Linked DNA regions of Homo sapiens: regions 1, 2, 3 and 5 are each linked to region 4. The links are contacts of gene promoters, found by promoter capture Hi-C in blood cells and fetal thymus (Javierre and others, 2016). All regions are on one chromosome and are shown on one strand. The core of a region is centred on a gene start or on the middle of the fragment in contact, and the rest is flanking DNA. Distances in the headings are between cores, read along the strand shown. Region 1 holds the start of SEC22A (SEC22 homolog A, vesicle trafficking protein). Region 2 overlaps HACD2 (3-hydroxyacyl-CoA dehydratase 2). Region 3 overlaps PARP14 (poly(ADP-ribose) polymerase family member 14). Region 4 holds the start of HCLS1 (hematopoietic cell-specific Lyn substrate 1). Region 5 overlaps HSPBAP1 (HSPB1 associated protein 1).

Region 1 (6,002 bases), core at 779-3,278, 1.5 Mb before region 4:
TAAAAATCTCACAGGCATTTTTCCAAAAATATTGTATCTTAGAGACTAAATTAATCCTTACCTGCCCACTTAATCTAGGTCAATATTATCTCATTCCAAAAAGGAAAAAATGAGTAATATATATAAAAAAAAATACCACAGAAAACCAGTTGTTACAAAGCTTGTAAATCAGGAGCTGATAGTTTTCACTGCTGTGTGAAGTCAAAATATGACTTCCCATTCATGGTGATAACTGATCTGACAATAAAAATTAACCCAACTAATAAATCTAATGCATTAAGTTCACTATCCCTTTTTCCTCTTTTCATGAGGAAAAAGGAGAAATCTCTAGGTGTTACTGTGTCATTACCCTTTAATATTTTTCTCCTTCAGAGACAGGGTCTCACTGTGTCACCCAGACGAGTGTAGTGGTGCGATCTCAGTTCACTGCAACCTCCACCTCCCAGATTCAAGCAATTCTCATGCCTCAGCCTCGCGAGTAGCTAGGATTACAGGCATGCGCCACAACACCCAGCTCATTTTTGTATTTTCAGTAGAGATGAGGTTTCGCCATGTTGGCCAGGCTGGTCTCAAACTCCTGGCCTGAAGTGATCTGTCCACCTCAGCCTCCCAAAGTACTAGGATTACAGGCATGAGCTACCACGCCCAGCCTCTCCATTCATTTAAAGAGAAAAATATCCAGAAGCAAATTAGTCTTTTTACTACAGTGGAGTCTTCAAACTGAAGTCCCAGTGTGACATATCCCAATTGGTGTTTTTTTCCATTCATCTAGTTTTTTTCTCTCCTAAAAGCAGTAGCATGAAAAAGTTGGGATCCCTGAAGAGATATCTATACTATAAACCCCTCTTTAATTTTTTTTTTACCATGTTTTACTTAATTATTAAATCACAATTGTAACATTTAGCCTAAGTGTAAGAAAGTAGGAAAATGTCTTACTCTATCCCCTTAAGCGTTTATTATTTAACTATAAAACTGTTGTCTTTCCAGAAGTACACTGCAACACAATAACCATTCTGGGAATTAATTTGAGGGTGAGTTGTAACTTGCAGTTCTAAATACCCACATTTTAGTATTTAAAAGCAGATTGGATGGGGTGCCATGGCTTATACCCATAATCCCAACACTGCTTGAGGCCAGGAGTTCAAGACCAACCTAGAAACATGGTGAGGCTCTGTCTCTATAAAAAAAATTAAAAATCAGCTGGGCATGGTGGCACACGCCTATAGTACTTGCTTTGGGGAGGCTGAAGCAGGCCCAGGAGTTCAAGGCAATGGTGAGCTATGATTGTGCCACTGCAGTCCAACCTGGGTGATGAGAGAGATCCTGTCTCAAAAAGTAAAATAAAAGTAGACTGTATTATTTTATGTCTGGCCTCTCTAGGATCCTAATAGAAATATTATGAATAGACTTCATTAATAGGTTGCCAAATTTCATGTAGTCTTCAAAGTTATTCTTTAGTGACTTGGAGGACAGATCAATAAATATATGATCCATGCTTTCTAAAACACATACTGTAAAAAGAATACAATTTGTAAGTTCCATTCGTTTACCAAACATTTACTGAATATCTAATGTGTCCCATGAATTATGCCAGATAGCAGGAATGAAGAGTCCTACCATCAAGAAACATCACTCCTCAATTAGAGAAACTCAGTTGAAAAGAGCAAACAATGCAGGTGTGTTGCCCACCACTTCACTAACTGGAAAACTAAAGTTGGACAAACTTACATTTCAAATACTCCTTTTTTTGTTGTTTTTTTGTTTTGTTTTGTTTTGTTTTGAAACAGGGTCTCACTCTGTTGCCCAGGCTGGAGTGCAATGGCTCACTGCAACCTCTGCCTCCCAGGTTCAAGCGATTCCCCTGCCTCATCCTGCCAAGTAGCTGGGATTACAGGTGCCCGCCACCATGCCTGGCTAATTTTTGTATTTTTAGTAGAGATGGGGCTTAACTGTGTTGGCCAGGCTGGTCTCAAATTCTGACCTCAAGTGATCCACCTGCGTCGGCCTCACAAAGTGCTGGGATTACAGGTGTGAGCCACTGCGCCCAGCCTCAAATTTTCCTAATATGTACTTTAGCCTTTAACCAAAAGCAGAACACAGTAGTTACATTCCCTGTCAAAATTATTACAAGGTTGTCAGAGAATGGTTTCTACTTATCCATAGATAAGATTTTTCTTAGGGAAAAAATTAAACCTCTTTCTACCACAGTAATTTGATTCAGCATCCAAAGCACTTGAATTTAAGCCTGACAAACGGGGATGAATGTCCAATGATCAACGTCAGGCTTAACTAATTTGTAGACAGATTCCAACCACCTTAGGCTAAGCTGTCTCTCCATCAATTCAATAAACATACCCCTACTTTTTTTCTTTTTACCACGGATTCATAATATAGTTTGTTTTTTTTTAAACTAATCTTATCTGGACTGTGCTAGCAGAAAAGGAAATCTGTCCATGTCAGGCCTAAGCTAGGTTAAAGTATCTTTAAGGTCTTAAGGAGGGTTGTGGTTGGGAAAATCCCAAGGAAGAACCAGTGGAACTGTGGAAAGCAAGAGATTACAACAATTGCATGGGAAGATTTAGGAGTTTTTAGCTTATCGGGGCCATAGATAAATGTTTAGGGCACTGGGCCATTTCTCCTCACCTTTAATACAGAGAAAATATTACACCTGCCTTTGTACAGCAGCAGTTAACTCACAGGGAACCTGAATAGTGGCTATTTTTTCCTCTCCCCATCAGCAACTGTTGGAGGAAAAAGCACAAGCTAGAATCTAGGTAAATCTGGGTAAACTTTTATGTAAAGGCTGAGGAAAATAAATTCCCACAATGCCAAACTACTATAGTAGTGGTTAGCAAGTTCCTGGACCCAAGATAATAAGACACCCCTCTTCTTCAGAACCTTGTAGGGGTAATGACTACAGGCTCAATGTCTCAGGAAGTTATCTCTCAAAAGGTAATAAACAAAGCCCAACATGTAAGTGGATTTTGTATATACGTTCTAACCAAATGCTTTCACAAATGCCACTTTTAAGATAAAAACATTTTATACTGGGGGCAAAAGCACTCATATTTATTTTAGTTCATAACTTCCCAGTCTTCAGTCATCCAAGTACCACTTTCAGAATTATCTTCATCCACCTGTACTATTTACCTAATATTGGTCTTTGAATTGACTTACTTTTCTTGTCCTTTATTTTTTAGCAATAATATCTGTGAAATCAGTTTTGAGATGTTAAGTTTTTCTCCTAATTTAAATTAAATGAACTTGTTTCATTCAAATATGTATGTGTGTGAAAATTTGGGGAGAATTTTTTAATGTTCATTTGCTTATCAAATTATCTTGCATATGTGACAGTACCAAAGTTTGGGAAACAATACCAATATGGTACATATTATTTTATTAAAAGTGCTCGCTGAGGGTGGGGGATAGAGTGGGTGATAAAGGGGATGGAATTTCCGCCATTTTGCCTATGCCTTCTACCTCACTAGCAGTGTTCGACATTCCTATTATGGGTGCTTGCACTGCACAGTATGTATAAGACCTCAGGCTTCACAACAGATTTTACCCACATCTAGGACAGGGCCCCCAATACATGCTCAAATGTGTCAATCCCAACATTTTTATAGTGCCACATAGTTCACGGTTGGGTAGGTAAAACCACCATTTTACAGATGAGGAAACTAAGGCTCACTTTCTCAATGTCACACTGCTAGTATATAGCAGAACTGGTACTTCGGTCTAAGTTTCTAGTATCTCTACATCACTATGCTTCATCAGTCTCCCAAAACCAACAAGACACAAGAAACCAGGGATATAGAAACTATCTATTCACTTGCTGCCTGGGTTCTAATCCTGGCTCCACCATCTACCAGCCATGTAAATTTGGACAAGCTTTGCCTTTCTATATCTCAATTTCCACATCTATATATTGTGGCTACTAATAGCATCTATCTCATAGGCTTGTTTTAAAGATGACAATAGTATCTATCTCATAGGATCATGTAAAGTGCCTGAAACATTGCCTTGTAACATGCTAAAAGCACTACATTAAATATTTGCTGTATTATTTATTGATTACTCTCCATGGACCACGCACTTTATACACATTACCTCATTTAAGCGTTCCAAAAACCTGTGAGATAGGTATTATTAGTTCCATTTTACCTTTGAGGAAATTCAAGCCCAGAAAGCTTGAGGAATTTTTTTTAATCCCTAAACGAGTAGGTGACAAAGTAGGGATTTAAACTCAGGCCCAATTCTAACAACTCTGTGAGACACTCAAGGAAGGTCACAGGCACCCCTGTGATAAGACCTAGGCCTCTTTCATATACCAACATAAGATATACTTCGATTTTAACCAGTTGCACGCAAAAAAAAAAAAAAAAAAAAAAAAAAAAAAAAAAGGCACTAAACAGATGTGATGGTTTTCAACATAGGAAATACCCGAATGTCCCATTACTTTAGGATATGGTCACAGGTGTCAGAGTCAAATACTGAATGAACCTTAATATATCAGAAATTGTAGGTACCGTTTAAGGCATTGCCTGATTCCTTACAATCTTAGCATGTAAGCAAATATCAGTAACATGGAAAGTGATTCAGAGTTTGAAAAGTGGCTGTTCCCCTGACTGAAGATCCCAACATCTCCAGTCTGGTGGCTGATACTTTTGCTCTGGGCTAGGCTTTGCCTTGGCTGAATAGGCATAGGAGGGACTGGTTCTCAAGCTCGCCCCCTGCCCCAGGTGGATGATCCAGGAAACTAAGCAGCAGGGAAAAATTATCTTAAGCTGTCTTCACTGGCAGAGAGATTCAAGCCAGCTGGGGCTTGTCCTTTTCTTTTGGAAGCCTCCTCCACTTGCCGAGCCAATTGCTCAGGTCTCCCTTCTGCCACATCGTTCCCAAAGTGACTCTTGAGACAGGGTCTCAAGAGATTTCCGTGAGCCAACGCGGGCAAATATCTGGGCTCAGGGCTCACTCCATCCCCACAAAACGTAAAGTAAGACACTGGTTCAAGTCCCATTCTGCCTAAAAGAAATAGGAAATGCCACCTCAAGCTCTCATGGGCCACCTACACAGGTAGATCACCGTGTTTCTGACACCTGGGCGCCAGGGAATCCCCACCACCATGCTGACAGCCAAGTGCGACTGTCCCTCCCCTTCAAACACTCCTTTCCTGGCTGCCCAACACCCGAGGCGGCTCAGACGAGGCGCAACCGCCGCCCGCCTGGCCCCAGAGAACCCTCAAGTCGAAGGGGACGGGGTCCCCGCTTGCCCGTCCCTCCAGAGCTCCGCGGCCCCGACTCCCATCCCAAAGGCACGGACTTGGCTCCTGCCCGTGGGGTAGGTCTTCAATCCCGAGGGCGAAGGCCGAGGCTGTGGCGAGAGGCAGGGAGCGGGAGGGGAGAGGCCGGCAGGGATTCGAACGACCCCTAAGAAAGGAAGAAGAGGACTGGGAGGGGCCGGGGAGTACCTGTCGAGACGGGACCCGCCGCTCCGAGTGACGCGCCCCGAAGTGCATTGTGGGGCCTGGGAGGGACCTTTCGGCGACGCTGCGGCGCGTCCAACGTGGCTCGCGCCCGCGGAATCAAACCACGCCCCCGTTCCCTCAGCTCACCCAGGCCAATCGGGTTCTGCAGGAAGGACACAACAACCCCCCAGCTCCCGGGGCCCTCCTTAGTCCCACCCGCTCCAGGAGAGATTGGCAGCTTCTCTCGCACCTGCGCCAGAAAAGTACAGCATCCTCTGATGACAGAACTACGTTGACTTCAGAAATAGGGCCAATCTCTTCCGCTCGCCGCCCTGTTTCTGCAGGCATTTTGTCTCTCACACGCGGCCCTACAGCAGACACTTATAAAGGGGACAGGGAGAAAAGCCCCCTCTGGGTGAGCAAGGAGAAGACCTGGCCCCGTCTATTCCCACACACAAGAAGGAAACTAACCATGGCAGAGAAGTGCCAGATGCTGACCCTGCGACCCCTTCCAGCCTTCGCATCGGTCATGCAT
Region 2 (5,563 bases), core at 67-2,566, 1.9 Mb before region 4:
TTATTTAAAGTAGGTGATACATTGTTAGGGTTAAAAATGAAAAACATGAGGGAATACAGTGAAAATCTTTCCTCCCACCTTTCCCTTCTACCCAGCTCCCCTCCCTCGAGGCAGTTAATTTTGTGTATCCTTAAGATGCTGATGCAAGCAAATATGTTTATACATCCCCCTATCCCTTTTTAAAATAAGACAAATGCCAATATATTAATATTTTTACAGTTCAGCACCTTGCTTTTTTTTCACGAAGAAGAAAATATATCGTGGGAGGATCATATATGTATTGCTAGTATTAGAAATGGTAGGTGTTGGAACCTAGGCTCAGAGAAGTTGTGACTTGCATGAGATCATAGAACTTGTTAGTAGAAGTTCCAGATCTAGAAATCATTTCTCTTGACTCACAGGTCAATGAAGAACTAGTACAGATACAAGCTTTATATCACATCAGTGGTCACATAGATTGATTTTTAAAAAAACATCCAGGAATCTCACTGTGTGTATTAATATTTATATATAAAATTCTTGTTGTCTTAGCAAGAGCCGGTGAGGGCATTGGACTGGAGAGGGATTTTGAGGTACATTGGTAAGAAGAAAGAAGTCTATTCCTGAGCAATGAACATAGAGAATGGGGTGGAGGGTAAGGAGTGGTATCTTAAACCAGGAAGATAAATTGGGATTGTGAGAGCAAAGTAAGCTTTTTTTTTAAGGCTGTTAATGGTTGTACCAGTTACACCATTAAATAATTTCTTCTTTTACAAACTCTTACTTGATGTCCTTATGTGATAGTTTTTGGAAATAGCATAGACCACACACACCCCATTGCCTAGTTGATACTATACATTTATCTAAATCCTTCCAGGAGACATACCTTAATAAAAAGGTCCATTTGTTTTATTATGGAACTTAACAAAACATTGTGTTTATTTTTGAGAAGGACAGTGGAACAAAAATATAACATTCACAGCTGTATGCTTAAGTGCTTTCCTGTTTCGTGGTTTGTATTGATCTGGCTTTCATTTCTGCATTGATTTTAGGAAATTTGGCTAAAAAACTTTTTTTTTTTAGCAAGAGCCCTTTATTCGTAATTTTAAAAGGATAGATTTTAAGGTATGGGTAATTGTTCCAGTGAGACAATTATAACAATAGTTTAAAGCATCTTCTTTCCACCCTGTAATTATTAAAAACCCTTTAACTGCACAGGCTGTTTAAAATTTTCCTTTAACTGTTTTTTTCTCGTCTTAGATTTTCTTGGCACCTGATTTAGTGGCACAAGGACCATTTTAGCTTATTCCTTTCCTTTTGGCCTTGATCTCAATAGCAAAGTTGCCAAAAAAATGAGCTCCAGATGGGTGAGGTGCCACTATGCTTTCACTGAGCCCTCTTGGTAAGGTGCTGTCGGTGTTGCAACATTTCAGTGCATTACAGCTTGGCATTTGAGAGCTATCGTCCATAAATCCAGGTTACTCATGCTTGAGGTCACCTTTAGCAATATCTTTTATTGCCACAGCTGTGTGTTAACCTAAATGCTACTTTTTTTATTTTTATTTTTTCCTGATTGCTGTTTTCTCTTTTACTAGGTGGCTGGTTATAGCGGTTGGTCTGGTCCGAGCATACCTGGCTAAGGGTAGCTACCATAGCCTTTATTATTCAATTGAAAAGCCTTTGAAATTCTTTCAAACTGGAGCCTTATTGGAGGTAGGTCCTGAGATTTATTGTTGTTATTGATTTCCATTGGTATGAAGAAAAACATGCAACTAAATTATATTGAAGTAGCATACCCCCTTTGGATTCATGTTAAATTTTGAAATTTTGCCTCCTCACATACTAAAGTGTTGATACCTAGGCTTTTTGATGTTCTAGATTGGGTAGAATCTCATTTAACTTAGGTTACCTTGAATGTATTTTATATTCGACTTTTTTGGGAAATCAACTGAAGCAAGCTTATATTAGGATTTTTAAAAATTCTAGGGACATCCTGGGGAAGCACTGGCAAAATCAGATGCTTTCAGGGTTTATGTAATAGAAATAGTGAAGTTGGTGGGTGTAGGATATTGGAAGTGATAGATAGAAGACATAATAGAGAGCCTGTCTAGAGGCGTCCAAATTTTAAAAATTTAACAAAAATGTATTGATTTCCCTGCATTAAGGGCAATGTATATCCAGCCCTCTCTCTTGGGGTAAGTATAGATTAGGATTTTGGAATTGCAAGGGACAAAAACCCAATTCAAACTATTTTAAGCAAAAAAGGAATTTTCTGGCCTCTGTAGTTGATACAGATACAGGATTAATTTACAAAGAAACTAGCTCAGGAATGAGAACCAAGGAGCTGACACTGCCAGATTCTCTTGCTTTCTCTCATTTCTGCTTGTCTGTTTCTCTTTGAATGTTGGTCTTGGGCTCTCCACATGGTGGGAAACAGGGAGGGTGTTTATTTTTCGCAGCATCTGTGTCACACAGTTCCCAGAGAGGATTCTGGTTGGCCCTACTTAGACTATGCCAGTGATGTGAGGTGCTTGATTAGCCAATCTTAGGACACATGCCCATTCTTCTGTCCAAGGGACTATAGACTTTGCTTATGGAAAAGAGGGATGGGGATAGCTTTGGGCACACAAAATCAATAGCCGCCATAGTTCGTATATTTCATTATGGTGAAAAACCTTCAGATTGCAGGGAAGATCTGGTTCATTTTGCTTAGCCTCCAGGCAAGACCATCATAACATTTATACTTTACTGGCAACTTTTAAAACCTGAACTATGGAATGATACTTAAGAAAAAATCATTTATCTCGCTGGGCACGGTGGCTCACGCCTGTAATCCCAGCACTCTGGGAGGCCGAGGCGGGTGGATCACGAGGTCAGGAGATTGAGACCGTCCTGGCTAACACAGTGAAACCCCGTCTCTACTAAAAATACAAAAATTAGCCGGGTGTGGTGGCACGGGCGTGTGGTCCCAGCTACTGGGAGGCAAGGTTGCAGTGAGCTGAGATCACGCCACTGTACTCCAGCCTGGGCAACAGAACGAGACTCTGTCTCAAAAAAAAAAAAAAAAAAAATTCTTTATCTCATGAAATGAAGTGTGATACCTCTACCTTTCATTCTCAATTTTTTTTTTTTTCTTGAGACAGGGTCTTGTTCTGTCGCCCAGGCTGGAGTGCAGTGGTGCCATCATGGCCGTGGCTCACTGCAGCCTTGAACTCCTGGGACCAAGCAGTCCTCCCACCTCAGCTTGCAGAGTAGCTGGGCCCACAGGCTTGCACCACCATACATGGATAATTTTTAAAACTTCATAGAGACAGGGTCTCCCTGTGTTGCCCAGGCTGGTCTCAAACTCCTTGGCTCAAGCAATCTTCCCATCTCAGCCTCCCAAAGCACTGAGATTACAGGCGTGAACCACTGCACCCAGCCCACTCTCACTTTATTTATTTATTTTTTTGAGAGAGGGTCACTCTGTCACCCAGGCTGAAGTGCAGTGGTGTGATCACTGCTCACTGCAGCCTTGACTTCCCAGGCCCCAGCCATCCTCCCACCTCATCCTCCCAAGTAGCTGGGACCACAGGCGTGCACTACCGTGCCTGGCTCATTTTTATATTTTTGGTAGAGGTGAGGTTTGGCTGTGTTTCCCAGGCTGGATTCACTCTCACGTTCTAGATCAGAAAGTTATCCATTTTGCTTTTGTTTTTTTCTCTTAGAAGGCAGAGGAATTTCTTTTTTTCTTTCTTTCTTTTTTCTTTTTTTTTTTTGACACAGGGCCTTACTCTGTTGCCCAGGCAGGAGTGCAGTGGTGGGATCTCGGCTCACTGCAACACAGAGGAATTTCAATAGTGTCCAAACTTAGGCATTTTAAGTAGGTGGTATGATGAAATGAGCTTCCAGCTGGAAGCCTGAGTACCTTTTTATTTTAAGTATAATAGTTTTCCCAACTGACTCTATAGATTTGGGCAAGTCTTTTCTCTCGTATCCACCTCCTTTTCATTTGTAAATAATTAGGTTAAAGTAGATTTCTAAAGTCCCTTACTACCCTAAATTTGAGTGTGAGGAAATTTTAACAAATCCTAATGTGAACCATTTTTTAAACTTAGAGGCTTGAACTTTTTTTGGAAGCGGACACTAGTAAATAAGTAGTACTTTCTCTTTCAGAACCTTGGCCAGTACAGTTCCCACAAGCTACAGAGAAGCAAATTTGGAGTCAAGACCATCAGACTTCCAGTACTTGATATAGTAGGGGGTTGTCCCCATTTGGAATACTTCAATAATTTAAAGGGGTTTCTATCTCTTTAAGACATCATAATATTAGAGCTGAGCACAGTGGCTCATGCTTATAGTCCCAGCAATCCCAGAGCTTTGGGAGGCCAAGGCAGGAGGATCACTTGAGGGCAAGAGTTCGAGACCAGCTTGAGCAACATAGCAAGACCTCATCTCTACAAAAAAAAAATTTTTTTTTTTTTAGCTGGGCTGGGTGGTGGGTACCTGTAGTCCCAGCTACTTGGGAGGCTGAAATGGGAGGCTTGAGCTTGAACCCAGGAGTTTGAGGCTGCAGCGAACTATGATTGCATCACTGCAATCCAGCCTGGATGACAGAGTGAGACCTTGTCTCAAAAAAAAAAAAACTTGGTAATGTTAGAAGTATAATTTTTAAAATTTAAGTATATCTTATGGAAGGTAGGGACATTAAACAGTGTCATACTTTAAAATCCACTCAGGAACCAAGTCTTAGACTTTGAAGGATTAGCCTGTTTATCCTTATAGAATTTTTAATAGGGATTTAGGAAAATATCTTGGATTTTTGGTTTTATCTCTGTTATCCCCACTAAGAACCAATTAAGTGACAAATCCTGGATTTGATTTTGGGAAAATGTCTGTGCATAAGGAAGTGAAGACTCCCAGGAACATGCAGGCAATTAACGTTGCAAAGGTCAGTGATGGAAGTAATCCCTTGGACTGGGCGATAGAGCAGGCTTGCTAAAACCACAATTTCTGTGGTTGAGGAGTTTTTCATTGCCTACCCCATCTACACTGTGTAATAATTAGATGTGTGTGGTATTGTTTAATTACACATAAGTTATCCTGATGGGAATTATTAGTGTTGACATATATCCTGTTTACAGGAGGAGAAAATGAATCCAGGGAAGGCAGCTACTCATTTATATCTCTTTATGCTAAATGTTATTCTTTATTAGGTTCTGTGGGAGTTTACTTAAAAAGGAAATCGAAATTACTTGTTCTCCAATTTCACATCTTCTTAAGAAAATAATAACACTTTGCTTTTTAAAAGACATAAAAACATTTACCAAGCAAGTACAAAGGAGCATGTAGTAGCAAGGTACAAAAGGAAGCCTGGCTGAGTACCATGGCTCACACCTGTAATCCCAGCACTTTAGGAGGCTGACATGGGGGGATTGCTTGAGGCCAGAAATTCAAGACCATCCTGGGAAACATAGCGAGACCCCATCTCTACAAAAAATTAAAAAATTGGCCAGGCATGGTAGCACATGCCTGTAGTCCCAGCTAATCAGGAGACTGAGGTGGGAGGATCACTTGTGCCCAGGAGTTCAAGGCTACAGTGAGC
Region 3 (5,935 bases), core at 2,775-5,274, 1.0 Mb before region 4:
CTGAGTTGGGACCACGTGAGCTCACAGTGACAACGCCTCATTTCATCGTTTATCTCCTCAATGAGGTGATTCTTTTTCTGTAAGAACTTCCATAAGGGAAGATCTAGTGACTCTTCAAATGGTGCTGGAAGCTTGATCAGAGGCTTCTCCTTTCCATACAAGGCTGTGCCCAATGAGGCATAGTATGGGAACACAGAAAGTGGCATTTTATTGAAGTCGAGTTTTGTGGCCATGATGGTGTCTAACACTTAAAAGGAAAGAAGTAAAATAATGTAAGCCCAGGATGATATATGGCAAATAAAAACAAAACAAAATTTTCCTATTTTAGAGAAAAAAAAATCTAATGTTTTTCTAACACTTAAAGGAAAGAAATAAAACAATGTAAGACCAAGATGATATGTGGCAAAGAAAAACAAAACAAAATCTTCCCATTTTAGAGTAAAAAAAACTAATGTTGGTAGAATTTTGATGTTACAGCGTATTAAAAAGCAATATACTCTCAAAGTGCTCAAATATAAACTGATATGTGTTAGCAGTGCACAGGTATCCCTTATTGAATGGAATAATTACTTTCTAGCCAAGATCCATCTATGTTGAAATCTTGTTAATTAAATTCTGTTTACTGTTTTCCTGATATTACTGATATATCACCATCATGTTAAGAAATACATGAGTTTGGTCACAATCGTGAGAATAATGTTTGCCCTAGTATAAAAAATATTTTGGTGCTCAAAGTATAAAAAATATTTTGGTGCTCAAAGTGAAGCTCACCTTAGTATTATGCTATTTGTTCTTCTTGTACAGTCCTATAATTTTAGGCTTCAAAGTTGACTTAGATTAACATTAATACCTCAAAAAGGAGGAGCATAATAATAAATTATTATAGCTTAGCATGTGTCACACACTATTCTGAGTGCTTTACATATATTTAATTCATTTCATCCTCACAACAACCATTTGAGGTAGAGACATTATTATTATCATCCTACTAAAACTGAGGCTAGGAAAGGTTAGATAACTTGGATAGGGTTACATAGACTGCAGATAATTCAGCTGAGATTCAGTGGTTGTCCAACCCCAACGCCCATCCTCTTGCCCCTCTACCAAATCCAAGTTATCATCACTGTCCTCTGAGAGCCCAGCCCCACAGACTATGATTCAGTAAGAACCACACCTCCTCCTGGCCCTGCTGGAATCTCCCTTTTCCACTTCACTGGGTGTGTTTGCATGTGTGTGCATGTGCATGCTCTTCTCTTCCAAGCCCCTCCTCGTTTTGTGTAAGTTATTAAGCAGAGCATCTGCAGAAAGGGAATCAGAATGTGCTCCAATAACAACTTGGGTTAAAAGAGCAACCTTTGTGGAAAGATGTTAAAAATAACTTCACCTTGTGTATGATTGGGTCCTAGAGCTGGTATCAAGCATGAGGGAAAAGCAGTGGCCTTCAGAGGCCCAAACATATAGCTTCAACTTCCCTGTGGCAGCCCTGAGCTTTATAGCTTCAACATGGCTCTGTGGCAGCCCTGAGCCTGGGCAGTATTTATGATTACCAACTTACTGAGCACCATCAGGCACCAGGCTCTTTGCTGGTATTATTTCATTTCAACCTCACAGCATTCCTCTAAGTAACCAGTAATGTGAACCCCATTTTACAGATAAGAACACAGAGGCTTAGGTGGGTTAAAGTAACTCGGCCAAGATTACAAAGCTAGTAAGCACCAAGGCCAGGAATCAAACTCAGGTCTGTCTGACTCAAGAACCATCACAGATGTCACCTTAATATGCCTTAAAGTCTCCATCCTGCTTTTCTTGTCTGTAAGGACAAAGTTTATCTAACTGTGCAGATTATTAATGGGATTGTGAGATACTGTAGCAGAAAAAACAGCAAAAGATCTTACAGACATAGGTGTTCAATGAAAATTCTCTTAAGAAATAAAACAGATTTTGTGAAGTTGAACCAAATAATTTTACAGTAAAATGCCTAATTTTTTCCTTTCAAGAAATCTACATAAAACACAATATTGTACAATAAATTCTCTTTTAAACCAAGCTCTATCTACCATCTGCCTCATTATTGGCAACCCATTGTGAATGGTGAAATATCCTATAAGAAAAATTAACGTTATAGGTGAACAGGAGATTTGGAAAGAGGAGAGAAGTTAGGGTATATGTTATGGGACCAGAATACCCAAGTTCAAATCCTGACTATGTCACTCACTAGCTGTGTAATCTTGGGCAAGTTATTGGACCTTTCTGTGCTTCAGTTTCGTCATGTGCAAAACAGGGATTATAACAATCAAGATGCCCATAAGACTGTCTGAATGCACTTGGTAATAACCTGCGAAGCTATGCAAATGTAAGTTAAAATTAAAAGAAGGAGAAGCTAAGCTGGGTGCAGTGACTCACGCCTATAATCCCAGCACTTTAGGAGGCAAAGGAGGGAGTATTGCTTGAGCCCAGGAGTTCAAGACCAGACTGGGAAACATGGCGAAACTCCATCTCTACTAAAAATACAATATATTAGCTGGGTATGGTGGCATGCACCTGTACTCCCAGCTACTCTGGAGGCTGAGGTGGAAGGATCACCTGAGCCTGGGGAGGCTGATGCTGCAGTGAGCCATGATCATGCCACTGCACTCCAGCCTGAGAGACAGTGAGACCCTGTCTCAAATACATAATAAAATGAAAATAAAAAATAAAAAGGAGAAGCTAGAGAACATAAAAGAAAGTCAGTAAATCACAGATGGTGGAGGACAGAGAATGAGTGAGTTTGGAGGAGGAGGTGTGGTCAAAAAAGTTAGATGGTGCAAAGAGATCAGGGAGAAAGGGAACCTTTGAGAGTGCCTCATAGAGTTTACATGAATAGCTCTGGCAGAAAATAAACCTTAATTAAATAGTACTTAACATTAGTTGTATATGTGCAGAATAGCCCTTCTGAGGACAAACCCAACAGCCCCATGCCCTAAAGATGTTTGAAAGCCCTGAAAATATCAACTCTCACCACAAACTGGGAGGTTAATTTCTAGGGTAGAGGATTTTATGTACCCCTCTCTCTCCCTGGGCCCAAGACCAGGCAGAGGGAGATTTGAATATGTGACAGAAGCTCCTCTTTGTCCCTTTGCCCAAGGAATAGTAGGTCTTTCATTCCATTTTAATTCAAACCATACTTTCATCCAGTTTTCCCAACACATGAAAACTGAGTTGGGAAAAGGGAGGTTCCTTCAAGTACCTTGTTGAAACAACTTCTCTCAAGTGGGTGGCATACCACATTATCCTATGTCATGCCCCACCCTGATTAATCCCAGGCACAGTTTTCCTTCTTTTCCCAAGAAGCCTGGCCCCCTAATTCCTTCTGCTCAGCCTTGACTTCTGAACACAAGTGGAACCTCCAAGCTGACCTTGCATATGCCTCAGAGAACTGGCAGTCTATATCACAAAACACTCAGAAGTGTTTCTCTAAGGTTCAGCTAGACATGGGTTTCACAGGGTCACTCCAAACAATAGTCCAGCAGGCATCCACTGGTCATGTGAAACCACTCCTGTCCATTTTTGAATGATGATACAATAGGTGAAAGGAGTGGTACTTTATAGGAACTCTATGAGTTGCTGAGTATTTCTTTACCTAACCTTGTCATAATTAATTTGAGAGCTTCTATCAAGTGTGTGGCTAAAACACAGATCATCTCCTTTTTAATATATTATTTCAAAGATCCCAAGAATATATTTTTCAGCCCATCATAGGTAGAGACTCATGAAAAAACCTCCTTATATCTTTCAAAAACTTGATTTTGCTTCTCTAAAGTCTGAATCACTGGCCTTATTAAGCATCATATCGCAGATGAACAGGATTATTTATTCAATTCCCAAAGAAATACATAAATAAACAAATAAAACACATCAGAACTAAATTTATAACTATTAAGCTCTGCTAATAATGGCCTAGATTATGCCAGGTATGACAGGTTAATAAATATTACCTTTTCTGTCAAAAAATTCAATCAGAGCTGAACTCTCTTCAGGAAAATATTCAACATTGGCAACTCTTCCCCCTCCATTATAGGGATTTTCAAAGAAAAGTTTTAAACTGTAGTCATCAGCACCAGGTGGCAGGTTTTCAACCCTGATTGTGTTTGTCACTTCCAGAAGTCTTGGAGAAAGCTGAAGTTGTTTAATTGAATGGTGCTTGGTACAATCATCAACAAATCTTATAGTATCTACAAACCAAAAAAAAAAAGAAAGAAAATCAGTAAATTTTTATTGTATCTTTATGTTGTATAGAAGAAAATGTCTGGCTACTAATTGAAATAAAAGGAAGAGCTAAGCACTCCATTTTTAGACACAAGATTTTAATACCTACATGAGAATTTACATACCTAAAACTCCCAGTCGCTGGGCGACACACACACGAATGTCTTACTTGGATTGCTGCCACTGAGCTGTGTCCCCACTTCCTGCCCCAGACCTCACCAACCCTCCTGAGGGTTTTCCCTACAAATCTCATTTCACCCCTTTCTCAAGCCCTTCAATGGCTCCCCATTACCTGCAGGTATGAGCGTTGACACTCCTCAGCCAGGTGTACAATGCCCTTGGTGATGTGACTCGAAACTAATTTCCAAGCATCACCTTCGGTTATTCCCTGCCATTCATTTTATTGTCCGTGTTGCCACAAAAACTAGTCATTATTTTTGTAAAACCCCTTCTCCTTGAAAGGGTCTTTGTGTATACAATTTCCTGCATTTGGAATGCTCTTCTCTAGTTTTTGTCTTGATCCTATTCATCTTTTAGGACTCAACTCAATTGTCTCTTTAATAATAAGTATTGGCCGGGCGTGGTGGTTCATGCCTGTAATCTAAGCACTCTGGGAAGCCAAGGCAGGCGGATCACCTGAGATCAGGAGTTCGAGAAAAGCCTGGCCAACATAGTGAAACTCCGTCTCTACTAAAAATACGAAAATTAGCCAGGCATGGTTGTGCGCGCCTGTAGTCCCAGCTACTCAGGAAGTTGAGGCAGGAGAATCACTTGTAGTGAGCTGAGATCACGCCACTGCATTGCATTCCAGCCTGGGCGACAGAGCAAGACTCTATCTTAAAATAATAATAATAATAAGTATTGATGGTGGGCCCACGATGTGCCAGGCACTGTGCTAGGATCTGAGGATACAGAAATAAATATAACAAATCTTTGCCAGTGCATCATCCATGTGGGAGCAAGTCTTGAGAGCAAATAAATTGCCTATTGTGGGATCAAATGAGGTGGGAAGACTAATACTGGGAATCAGACAATGGTTCCCAGAGTAAGTGGCTCTGATCTGGGTTTTGAACAATGAAGAGGGGTTTACCAGATGGATAGGGAAAGATCTATGTCAAGCAGATGGAATATATTCTGGACATTATGAATATAAACTTCACAGAAGCAAGACCAAGCCACCTTGTTTGGGTCCCTTTCCTCCCATTTCCCACAGCTTTTTGTTCACAGCTTAGAGACAGCTTCTTCTCTTGGACCTTCTTTATTTGTTTACATATGGGCTTCCTCCCTGACCCCAGGCTATGAGTTTCTCAAGGGCAGGAACCTGATTATTCATCTCTGTGCCCACAGCACCTAGACCAGTGCCTGGCACATATTAAGCATTCAAGATTCTGATCGATGAACAAAAGCAAGTCCATTTAGTTTTTCCTTTGTAAGAAACAGTAATAAATTTGAAATAAGAATAGCTCCCTTTCAGTCATTACTACGTCTCAGGTACTACGTTAAGTTGTTAAGCACTTTTCTTTTTCTTTTCTTTTCTTTTTTTTTTTTTCAGACACGGGGTCTCACTCTGTCACCCAGGCTGGAGTGCAGTGGCATGATCTTGGCTCACTGCAATCTCTGCCTCCCAAGCTCAAGTGATCCTTCCACCTCAGCCTCCTGAGTAGCTGGGAGGACGGGTGTGCGCCACCAT
Region 4 (5,561 bases), core at 2,058-4,557:
GATTTTGCAGGACCCTGATCTTTTGTGGTCCTGTAAAAGATACTGAGGAATGTCTTTCAGCCAAGCCAAGAGGATGGTTTCAATAAACCTAATAATCTGAAGTTCAGTATCATTTTGATTGATAACTTTCTTTGCCTTGTTTGCCTGTATTTTCTCCTGTTTCAGGGGGAAGGTGGCTCTGCCATAAACAGAGTTCAGGGAAATGAACATGTCACCTCATAGGACATCTGATTTAGGTCTCTTGCAGAATAGGGTGGTGAAAGCTGAAGGAACTCCCTAGGGGTTTTAGCTGTTAGATCACATGGGAGGACAGCATCTTCTTCCCTGCCAATTTCAGATATAATTGGAGGGAGAATTTCAGGTCTTAGACTATAAGGATAGAATCCCTTTGCTTTTGCCCTTGATCACATGTATACTAAGGTATTAAGTGGCCCAAGTCTTTCCTTTCACCAAAGGGCAGGGAGAAGTGTCTATGGACAGCAGGGTTCCAATTCTTGTCATTCCAGGAATATCTGAATATTCCTGGAATGTGGACCCTGAGACAGTGCTCAGGGGCCACTGGGAGCCAATATTAGGCATTGACTCTCAGCCAGGAGTCTGACTGGTCTAACACCACACTGCAACTCCTGACCTCTTGAAGTACTAAGCTACTTTGCTGTTAGTGACAGTTATTACAGTTTCTCAGCCCCATTGTCTCTGCCCTCTGTGGCAATGGAAGGAGAATATAGAGAAGACAAAATTAAATATAGATAGACCTGAGAAGGACAGCCAGGATAGAATTCCATTTGTGCCTATTCCCTGCCTCCCCTCCCCTCCCCCATCCTACCAGTTGGTTATTTTCTCATTGCATACGTGATGTGTTCACTGCCTAGCCTCTCCCTAAAGAAGAGAGAAGACAAGTGGGCTGACTGATCTGCTCTAAATCTACTGTGGTGATTAAATCTTGGTTACAACATCCTGGGAAGTTTCCTGAACAACTGTAAAATAATAAAATTATTTTCAGAATGAAGAGTTTGTGTGTATGTGTGTGTACGTGTGAGTGAATGGATATGTGCACAGGTGTTTCGGTACCTGTGTTTGCATGCTGGGGGGTGGAAGGTGGGTAAGGGAAGTAGGGAAAGGAGGTAGCCAGGAATGGTTATAGGGGTAGAAAGCTCTACATATTCAGGCTTTCTTCTCACTGGCCAATATCAGTGACAGCTGCATGCATTTTTCCAGCCTTAGCTGCTAGACCCCAGGTGATGAATGCAGTGAGGAAATTCTATCCTAATACTGAACCAAATAAGCTGGGCCTTAGGGCATGAAATTGATGCAGGTCCATGCATGGTCCTGGGAGAACTCTTGTCTGGCACATAGTGAAAACATTAGGCCCCTAGGGATCCCTCTGGGTGGGAATGGGAGAAGAGAAGCTTAATAGCATGTAGCAGGTTAGATAGGCATTATTATGTTTTGTTTTGTTTTGTTGGGTTTTTTTTGAGACCGAGTTTCACTCTTTCGCTCAGGCTGGAGTGCAGTGGCACAATCTCAACTCACTGCACCTTCCGCCTTCCAGTTTCAAGCGATTCTCCTGCCTCAGTCTCCCAAATAGCTGGGATTACAGGCACCTGCCACCATGCCCGGCTAATCTTTGCACTTTTAGTAGAGATGGAGTTTCACTGTGTTGGCCAGTCTGGTCTCAAACTCCTGACCTTGTGATCCACCCGCCTCAGCCTCCCAAAGTGCTGGGATTAGAGGTGTGAGCCACCGTGCCCAGCTATTATGGATTTTTATATTAAGTTGCTGCTTGAGAGAAGATAGCTCACTTTCTCAAAGTACAATAAGTGGTTTAATTGAACCAAGTCTGTCTGGCTTCAAGGCCCATTCTTTTTCTGTGTGATACACCTCACTACCTCATCAGTAATGAACTTGTGACATTTGCTAAGGAAAGATGGGACTTCTTGGTGTCATCTCTGATTAATTTCTATATTTTCTCTAGAGAACTATGTACCTGGATGGTGTGTCACATCATCTAGTCTAAATCGTATTTTGACACTACATGAGGATTCCAAGTGATTTTTCTCTTGTACAAACGTACTCTTCCTTATCATAACTTTGGTACCACCATGATAAATAGGTAATAAAGTAGAAGGAATAAATAAAGCTCCCCCAGGCATAGAATCCTTAGATTTGGAAGTGACAGAGGCTTCATATTCCTAATGCAGAAAAGTGCCTGTATCATGGGCCAGTTTCATCCAGTCCTGCTTAAACTCCTTGGAGGATGCACCGTTGTGAACAAATCAAGAAGTCCACAATCAAGATTAGGAAAGGCTAGGTCAGATACAATAACAGACACCCTCAAATTCTCAGTAGCCAAAACAAAGGACTATTTTTTAGTGAAAGACTCCAATTCCCCCACATGGTGGATGGGGCTCCACTTGTGTTCTTTCTCACTCAGGGACCCAGTCTGCTGGAGGAGCCAATATGGAGAATTGCAGGTTGCCTTGGGCAGTGGTGAAAGCATGGCAAAGCTTGCAGTGGTCTTACGGCCTCCGCCAGAAAGTGGTATCTGTCACTGGCCAAAACAAGTCACCTGAGTAAGTCTGACTTCAAGAGGGAAGGGAGGGGCAGCAAGTCTTGACACGCAGTAAAACAGGATACCACAAAGACCTTCTTCCATCAGCTGACCAGCACCTGGTTCTTTCAGAATTCTTCCTACGCTCTAGAGCCAAATCTTTAGTTTGTTAGCTCAGACTCCACAGTGCCCCAAACAAGCTAGGAAACTCTCCTTCCATGTCTTGCCTTTTCCCTCATGAGTTATTCTCTTCTGGCATTCAATTGGTCGACGTTTATTTGAACATCTATATGAAAACTCCACTTTTAAGTGCTGTGGGTAATATAGGGGTGAGTTTCTTTTTAAGTCTTATGCTTCAAAACCCACATATAAATCACTTTTCCCATAAAGCCTTTCTTGATGAATACACCCAATACCAAATGCTCTGAATTCCTTTACTGTCTCAAATGTAACTGCCACCCTATTTAGGACACAATGCTGTTCTACAGCATTCTCTAATGTGTTTTCTGGTTGAATGTTTGTTTCTCTCACTGGATTACAAACTCAGAGTCAAAGCAGCATTTTCTATGACTGCTCTATGACCCCCATTGTCAAAACCTTGCAAAAGACCAGGCACAGAAACATTTAATCCTTTTAAAATTTAAGTGTCTAAAGCAGAAGGAACTGACTCAAATTTCAGGAAGTAGCTGTGAGGATGGGGTGGCAGGAAATGACGAAAACCTGAATACGGAACTGAAGCAGCAGCTCAGTTTCTCACTCCGAAGTGGCAGCAGCCAGAGAGGGAGTCGGTGTGGACGCGAGGAGCCGGGCGCTTAGAACAGAGGCTTGCACAGGTGGAGGTGGGTACTCTGAGCCATGGGACAGTTGGGAAACACAGAGTAAGAGTTGAGGAGGAACCTACCTGGCTCTTAGTCCTTGGTGATGGGCAAGGTCACCACTAGTAGGCTTTTATCCTTTTATGGCCAGAAGGCCTGGTTGTGAGTGGTTGTAGCAAATCAGCATCTGGAGATAGAAACAAAAGGGAGGGGCTTAAACCCAAGGCAAGTGTTTCAGGAGCCATCTAGCACCAACATCAAGCAAAGTGTTGCCTGGTTTCTGCTGACAATCTACAACCCACTCTAAGGCCTGTCTCCCCTAGGTACTGAGCTGGGAGGAGGACCACAGGAGACGAAAACAGTGTCTGCCCTTGAAGAGCATATGGTCTCAGGGAAACAAACCCACACAGGAAATGTAACAGATCAGGAAGTAGTCACTGATGTACACTAGCACTGAGTACCAAGTGCTGATGGAGCCCAAGAGAAGGCATGATTGTTCTGCTGGGGCTAGTTTCTGTGTTCGTAGATCACAGAATCTCAGAATGTCAGAAATCAAGGAGACCACAGATGAGCTACGTTAACCCCTTCATTATTTTCCACTGGGAAAATCAGAGATAATTGCTGATTTGCCAAATTATTAAAGTTAGTATTTCTTAATCGCCTGGTCTGATACCTGGCAAATGAGTACCTACTCTGTTGATGCCCTTGTGATGGTCCCTCAGAGGCTTAGTCACAGAGCTGGGGTGACAGCCAGGGCTTCTGACTCCCAGTCTGTGTACTTTGATGCAGGAGGTCAGCATCGCAACAAGGCCTCACCAGATTACTCTCTGGTTCTCACCTCTAGATAGCACTTCTTACCTTTCTGGTTTCTGGTCAATAGGTCAAGGATATTAGATAAATTGTCTCTATTTCAGAAACTCTTTATTTCAAAAATGGGTGAATGGGAGAGTCAGGCTGAGGCCTCAGAGGAGCCACAGGAAGGAGGATGGGACCATCAGTCCTCATTGCTTCCTTATTGCTCATGACTATTTCAGAAACTTCTCCATTCCAGTTTTCTGTGTGACAGTCCTTTTGTTGTTGCACAGCAGCCCAGGAGCCAGGGGATGAGAAGCAGAGGGGTAGTAAGGATGCAGGTAGTAAGGATGTTTTGCTGTCTCCAACCGCATCAGGGAAAGCCAAGCTGCTTTCAGCCATGACTCCCGGCTGACTCAGTCAATATCTCTCCGGTGTCCCCTTAGCATCTCTTTAACTGATTTACCCAGACTTCCCCTGGGCTGGTTTTTAAGAGGTTGCTCAATGGAGAAGATGGAGCTTTCAAGTGGAAATAGAAAACTGGAGAATCTGAAGGCCTAGGTGGAGACAGGAGAACCCGAGGAGTGGTTGTAAAGGGACTCTTTGGAGACGATGGAGAGCATGGGGAAGGTCTCCAATGGGATGAGGTGTCTGAGGAGGGAAGGATTGCCAGCTAGCAAGTGCTGCCAGGGTCAAGAAGTCTCAGTGGTGACCACAGCAGATGAGCATTGTCTGTTGTTACTTCTTCACACCAAATCCACAGATGCAGAGCAACTGTGCCGCTCTTCCTTCTGCACAGTCCGGAAGGCCGTCTAGAACACTGGGAATGCCCCAGCAGAATAAGTTTGGCACCCTTCCAAGCTAGGGTTCTCTAAATATTTCTGCAACATTTATTTAGTTGATAAAAACTGAGTACCTCTTAATGTTCAAAATCAGATTTATTACATATTATTCTTTTTTCTTTTCTACGGTAAATTGTCAACTTGAAAACATGCTATTTTTTGACTTTAGCAATTAATTGAACCATTTTTAAAAAATTGAGTAATAACTGACTTATTCCCAGCAAATAATGCTCTCCCAATGCATTGTTCCATGTGGAAATTTCAGCCGACTGTCGCTGCTGACCTTACACAGCTGTGAGGTGACCAGACTCAGGGTGGAGGTGGGACAGCACTTGGACCAGAGGCTGGAAAAATTCTCAGTGTAGTTCAGCAGGTTGTAAAGAGGGATGTAGATGTTCACTTTGTGAGAAGCAGAACCAATTTGTATTTCAACAGCAACAAAGGAATCATATATAGAAACCTGAGTGAAATAAGGCCATAATTCTAGGGATATTATAGCACCGCTCATTGCCAACCACCTCCAGCCACTGCCTGGCTGGCCTCGGGACACAAGTGAACAAT
Region 5 (5,997 bases), core at 3,370-5,869, 1.1 Mb before region 4:
TTTCACCATGTTGGCCAGGATGGTCTCGCTCTCTTGACCTTGTGATCCGCTGAGGTGGGCCTTTCTGATTGGATGAGATGGTGACAAACTCAGGGAGTGGTGCTGGGGTTCAGGAAGTCAGGGAGCAGAAAAGGATGGATGTATTTAGGGGTCAAACAGTTTGCTGAAGGGGGAGATGCCCATTCCAAGCAGAAGAAACAAATTATAGCCTCCTACTATCTGACCACTTTCTACCAGGGAGACAATTCTTGACCTTCATCTATACCTCCATTGCATTGATCTTTCCATTTTCTATCCACTGCACCCCCTTATCCAGAATGTATGTCGTTCCTTTGAAAAATTCTCTTGTCCCTTCCTGCACTTTTTTCTGACAAAACTCTTACTCTGGATGAAGTCAACCTTTTGCCCTCTTTGTACCTGCACCCGTGGGCCTGAACTTTGCTGGAAAAAGTCCTGCACAAACTGATGACCGTATAAAGTGAAAATGGCCAAACTCTTGAATATTCAGTCAGTATGGGCTTGAGATCCCTCTGATCCTCTGTTTCTCTAGTGAGCCTGCTAACGTTCTCCAATGACAAATTCCCAAACTCTATAACCTCTCTCTGCCTCTTTCTTAATTTCAGGTAATGACTTTGCAAGTCAGGTCAATTCTGCATCTAATCTGTCTACTTTTTTCCTTTCACTATCAGACCGTACTTCAAATCATCCACATTTTCTCACCTCAACTACTACTGTATCTTCCTGACTGACTTGTGTCTCTGTTTTCTATTCTGTGCCCCTCTAATCCCTTCTCCACTCTGCAGCAAAAAGTGACTCTTCCTTATGTAAAATTCTTCAGCGAATTACATTGCCCTTAGAAGTTAGAATAAAACCCAGATTCTTAACCGTGGCCTGTAATAATCCTTGGTCTGGGCTCTGCTGATGTCTTTAGCAGGATCTCTTGTCACTCACCTCCCCTTTGGCTTTTCACATAGCTGGCTTAATCTTTAGCTTTTAAAGTATGTCACCACCTGAGACCTTACCAGATCAAACTATTTAAAACAGTCACTGTGATTTCTCTTGCACCCCCCAACCCTAGATGTTCTGGAATACAGCATCCTGCTTCTGTCATTTTACTTACTACAATCTGTAATTATTTATTATTTGTTTTTTCCATTAGATCATAAGTACCTTGAGGGCAGGACCTATGTCTGTTTCATTCTCTACCATGTGCCCAGCTGCTAGTACAATGCCAGGCACATAGTTGGCACATGCCACATGTTTGTTGAGTGGATGAATAAGGGCACTCCATGCCAAGTCCAGAGGCAAAAGGAGAAAGCATGGCATGGTCCAAGAACTGAAAGAAGTTGGTGTCAGGAGTGGTAAGAAAAGAGGTATCCTGAAGGTTACCTTAGGCCTAGTTAAGGAATCTAGACATTAAGACAGTAGGAAGCCTTAAAGAGCTTTAGGTGAGGGAAATAACATGATTAGATTTGGTTGTAGGAAGATCACTTTGGCTGAAGGGTAGAAGACCGATTGGAGGGAGAAAGACTGGAGGACAAGGTACTTAATCCCTTTGAGCCTCAGTTTCCTCCTCTGTAAAATGCATGATTATTGTGAAGATTAGAGTTAATATGTGTAGATTATCTAGCATAGTATCTGGCAGGAATTGGATATTCAAGAATCGTGACCATTTTTATTATTAATAGAAAGTGCCAGCCTTAGTAACTGATGTTGAAACTGAAAGAAAAGAAATTAGAGATGTTATGTAAGAGAATGAGAAAAATAAATACATTAAATAAAGTCAAGTGAAAGGGTCAGTATGTTCAGTACAATGATGAATACAATGGGAGTCATAGAAAAGTTCATTTTTAAAATTTTTGGTTTATTTTTTATTTTTGTAGATACAGGGTCTCACAATGTTCCGTAGGCTGGTCTCGAACTCCTGGCCTCAAGTGATGCTCCCACCTCAGCCTCCCAGAGCACTGGGATTTCAGGCATAAGCCACTGTGCCCAGCTGAAAAGTTCATTTTTGAGCAAACTTATTCCATTATCAAAAAATATTTGAATGGCACATGGTAAACAGACCTTTTTCATGTGGTAAAGCAAAAGACAATCTTTGCCCCAAAATAATTATAAATATCATTTTTGGCAATAAAGACATAGATAAAAAGAACAGTAGTATAAGACATATCCTAAAGGTCAGATGTAATTAGCTGGGATATGATACTCAATATGATACACATTAAGTACTTTGGAGGCTGAGAGGAGAAGGAACTAATAGAAATTGGGTTGGTTTGTGCTTCCTAGGATAATTTCTTGAAGATGAGCCAGGTGAGGATACCAATTCTACTAAAGTAGAAATAATGACAGAGAACCTGGGTGAAAAAGGGGAAGACTTGTATCCATTGAATCCAGAGAAGAGCAGGGTGAAAACAGAAATGCTGAAGTGACGAAGAGGGAAATCATGGGTTTCAGTCTTTGCAGAAAAATAGAGCAAGGTACCACAAAAGTAAGGAAGTAGAGAAAGGTACTGGAGATTTGAGAGTGAAGAAGCATCCAGGCATGCTGGTGCATGCCTGTAATCCCAGCACTTTGGGAGGCGAGGCAGGCAGATCGCTTGAGCTCAGGAATTTGAGACCAGCCTGGGCAACATAGTGAAACCCTGTCTCTACGGAAAATACGAAAATAAACTGGGCATGGTGGCACACGCTTGTAGTTCCAGCTGCTTGGGAGGCTGAGGCACAAGAATCGTTTGAACCTGTGAAGCGGAGGTTGTAGTGAGTTGAGATCGTGCTATGGCACTCCAGCCTGAGCAACAGGGCCAGACCCTGTCTCAAAAAAAAAAAAAAAAGAAGCTTTGGCATGATTGCCATAGGGTTGCGGGTGATTAGGAGTGATAGGAGTGAGTCAGTGCTTGGGAGCAGGAAAGGGTAACTGGTAGAGGTGAGCATAAAATCGTGGAACTAATCACCTTGGTTATGCTTGATAGCTCATTCTACAGAAGTGGAGAAAACAAGTGCTTAGTTTCAATAAAGTTTTATACATTGCTAAAAATCAGGTATTCTTATACAGTTATTTGAAAGAAACATTTGTTTAGCATCATTTTATGCTAGGCACTGGACTAACCTCTAGGGAGATAAAAGTAAGAGGTCTGCCTTCAAGAATGTGATATTGTTTGTTTGAAATAACAGCTTAGAAATAATTAAAAACAAACATGAAACTACTTATTGTTAATTAAGAATTAATTTAAATTCTGAATGTGAAATGTTACTCTCAGAATCATACATAGATTGAAGCATTCAGTGAAATTAAAAATTGCAGTTATTTGAGTGTGATTCTATCTTTCAAACTGAGGTTATTATATTTCTCTCTATTGGGCTGTTTTTTAGTTTTTAGTTATAGCCAAGATTATTCCTTGATAAAGAGGAGAATGTGTTAGTAACTCTTCTTCCAGTGCTTTCTGAGGAAATATCTCATCTAGAGTTGTATGGAATTGATTTTCACTTAGAACTAACATTCCTACATAACTGGATTTATCTTTTTCAGTTGGAGACCCGTACTCACCATGTCATTTTTGTTCTCATTTTTAAAAGGGGCAAAGGGTGGAGGAGTTTAAAGAAAAGCAAAAGTCTGTGTTATCTCAAAAAGTAAAAAATTCCCATGTTAGAATCCATATGTAATTCATAATGTAGATAAAATTTTTAATTTCACTGAATGCTTGGTATTGATGAGTATCAGAAAAACAATACCATTTGTTTTATTGTGGTAAAAACATATAACATAAAATTTACCATGTTAACCATTTTTCAGTGTTAGTAGTGTTAGGTAGGTACACAACATTGTGAAGGTGATCTCTAGAGCTTTTTCATATTGCAAATCTGGAACTCTGTATCCGTTAAACAATAACTTCCCTTTCTCCTCTTCCCCCAGTCCCTGGTAACTGCCATTTTATTTTCAGTTTCTAGAAATTTAACCACTTTAGATACTCCATATAAGTGGAATCATATAGTGTTTATCTTCTTGTGACTGGCTTATTTCAGTTAGCATACTGTCTTCAAGGTTCATCCATGTTGTAGTATATGATAGAATTTCCTTCCTTTTTAAGGCGGAATAACGTTCCATTGCACGTGTAAGCATTTTGCTTATCCATTCGTCAACAGACCTTTGAGTTGCTTCCACCACTTAGCTATTGTAATAGTGCTGCTGTGAACATGGGTGTGCAGATGTCTTTTCAAGACCTTACTGTAGAATACTTTTGAGGAAAAGTAAGATAAAATAATCATTTATTTTAAATTATCGAAAATTCACTTGGGGAGGCTGGGGTTCAATGGAAACATTTGGGTAGAAATTTTGGAGGTACGTTGCAAAAACCTTTAGTATTTGAGACATCATTCCTTCTAGTGTTAACTTCACTTAAAATATAGACAGATTTCCTTTTTCTTGCTTTGGTTTGAGACTAGTATTACTTTTGAATTTATGAGCCATTTTTTGAGGTAAAGATAAGTTTTCTGGGTTAACTGAACAAGGGTTTATAAGTGTAGGAGGATGGAAAGAAGCTAAAAGGCTCATGAACCTTTGGTAAGTGTCCAGGATGTAACTGTCTCAGGTGCCCAGCCTGAACTTCCTGTGTGTTTACTGCCACACCAAGCATTGGTATTGATAAGGCTAGGTCATAACAGCCGCAGCACTAATGTTTGTGGGTTTTTTTCAGTGATAGACATCACCTTCTAGACCTTGAAATTCAAAGGGTTTATGGTTAGCCGTCATTGTACTTAAGTATTATGTTACCTTTCAGGAGAATTTTCTTAGTTTGTGTTGACATTTTAAAATAGTGGTTACAAAATGAAAAATTCTTTTTGGTGTAAGTTTTACCATTCAGTCTTCAGTACTAATCCAGTAATTTTGTCAGATAGTACTTGCACGATTCCATCAGGTTTTTCTAACATGACCCAAATGGTCATTATTTTTTGCCCTAATATCTACCATTCCAGAGGTTTTAAACTTTCTTATATGTATATACAATAGTTGTTTGATGAAACACCATATATACACTTAGATGTATACATTCAGAAATAAATGATCTCACTGTGCCAGGACCCAGTTTTAAATTCATGCTGTATCATTATAGTGATTCTCTGTAGTGTAATGTGTGACTTACTCTTATGTCAACTTCTAAAGGTTTTTAAAAATCTTTAATTTTTTCATTAAAATTATATCTGATGAGAGACAAGTTAATTTCAATTTCAAGATTTTTGTTATATTCTGTTAATATTCGGAGTGTCCTGGACACATGGTAAATGTTCCTTATTCTTGTCTTAAAGTCTAAATCTCAGATACAAATCCAGGCCAGGTGTTAATTGACAGACACCAGATAGTTGGCGTTCTCAGAGAAATTAGGTTTCAAATTATCTTGTACTTTACATTAATTTTAAAAAATTACTGAGAAGGACGCAATTTATTTTTGATGATGTTTCACTATCTCCAAAGAATTAGTTGCAACTCAGGCTGTAATAAATTGACTGGAGAACATCCTACATTTGGAGAGAGAAAAAACTATTGGGTAACACCCAGATCACTAATCTGTTTTTTTTCAGTAGTTTCTAAATCATCTAGTTAAAAATTACTACCTGCTGCAAGTTTAGACCTAAATACCCTTATCCTTTGAAGACTGTTGAGGTTGCTTCAGAATTTTTATAGCTCTTTGCAAAATATTATTAGCATGGAATAACTGGGTGCATCCATAGGCTGTTTAACTAATACAGGGTAGCATTGCATTCTTCTTTAAAGGAAATTGTAACATTTAAATTCATTAATTTAATGGCCCAGTTTATTGTTGATTAAATTATCAGAAGCTAAATTAGTTTTATCTCACAACCAGCTGATTGTTTTATTTCACGATGGGCCTGAAATTCTGTAAATATGCTAATTTCCTGTTATGGTGAACATCCTGCTACTCTGCTTTGCACACACTTCATAGTGCTCTCATTCATTTAGCAAATGTTTTGGCATTTAATA

The links. Contacts are between HindIII fragments. The CHiCAGO score rates a contact against its expected background, and 5 or more counts as called.
Region 1: a contact is called between a fragment that was not itself captured here and the fragment with the promoter of HCLS1 in region 4, in 1 of 17 cell types (total CD4 T cells). The highest score is 5.3, in total CD4 T cells.
Region 2: a contact is called between a fragment that was not itself captured here and the fragment with the promoter of HCLS1 in region 4, in 2 of 17 cell types (total CD4 T cells and total CD8 T cells). The highest score is 10.7, in total CD4 T cells.
Region 3: a contact is called between a fragment that was not itself captured here and the fragment with the promoter of HCLS1 in region 4, in 1 of 17 cell types (monocytes). The highest score is 5.1, in monocytes.
Region 5: a fragment that was not itself captured here is called in contact with the fragment with the promoter of HCLS1 in region 4 in 1 of 17 cell types (monocytes); the score reaches 6.3 in monocytes.

What each region holds. Positions count from the first base shown.
Region 1 is chr3:123,201,455-123,207,456 of GRCh38, reverse strand. It overlaps SEC22A (SEC22 homolog A, vesicle trafficking protein), which reads right to left and starts at 5,514. Exons shown (of 7, transcript NM_012430.5): 1 at 5,471-5,514. RefSeq lists enhancers at 5,428-5,477, 5,718-5,797, 5,808-5,957. The HindIII fragment of the contact is 3,731 bases long and covers 163-3,893 here.
Region 2 is chr3:123,578,341-123,583,903 of GRCh38, reverse strand. HACD2 (3-hydroxyacyl-CoA dehydratase 2) reads left to right here. Exons shown (of 7, transcript NM_198402.5): 2 at 1,575-1,692. Among named protein-coding and RNA genes, the nearest start is that of HACD2, 3.9 kb to the left of the region's middle. The HindIII fragment of the contact is 1,246 bases long and covers 694-1,939 here.
Region 3 is chr3:122,693,702-122,699,636 of GRCh38, reverse strand. PARP14 (poly(ADP-ribose) polymerase family member 14) reads right to left here. Exons shown (of 17, transcript NM_017554.3): 5 at 3,975-4,211; 6 at 1-247. Among named protein-coding and RNA genes, the nearest start is that of PARP14, 16 kb to the right of the region's middle. The HindIII fragment of the contact is 7,781 bases long and covers 134-5,935 here.
Region 4 is chr3:121,658,649-121,664,209 of GRCh38, reverse strand. HCLS1 (hematopoietic cell-specific Lyn substrate 1) reads left to right here and starts at 3,307. Exons shown (of 14, transcript NM_005335.6): 1 at 3,307-3,390. GOLGB1 (golgin B1) reads left to right here. Exons shown (of 22, transcript NM_001366282.2): 22 at 1-1,009. RefSeq lists enhancers at 3,035-3,084, 3,275-3,464. The HindIII fragment of the contact is 5,970 bases long and covers 2,510-5,561 here.
Region 5 is chr3:122,786,701-122,792,697 of GRCh38, reverse strand. The region is part of intron 1 of HSPBAP1 (HSPB1 associated protein 1); the gene reads left to right. Among named protein-coding and RNA genes, the nearest start is that of HSPBAP1, 4.1 kb to the left of the region's middle. The HindIII fragment of the contact is 3,559 bases long and covers 2,840-5,997 here.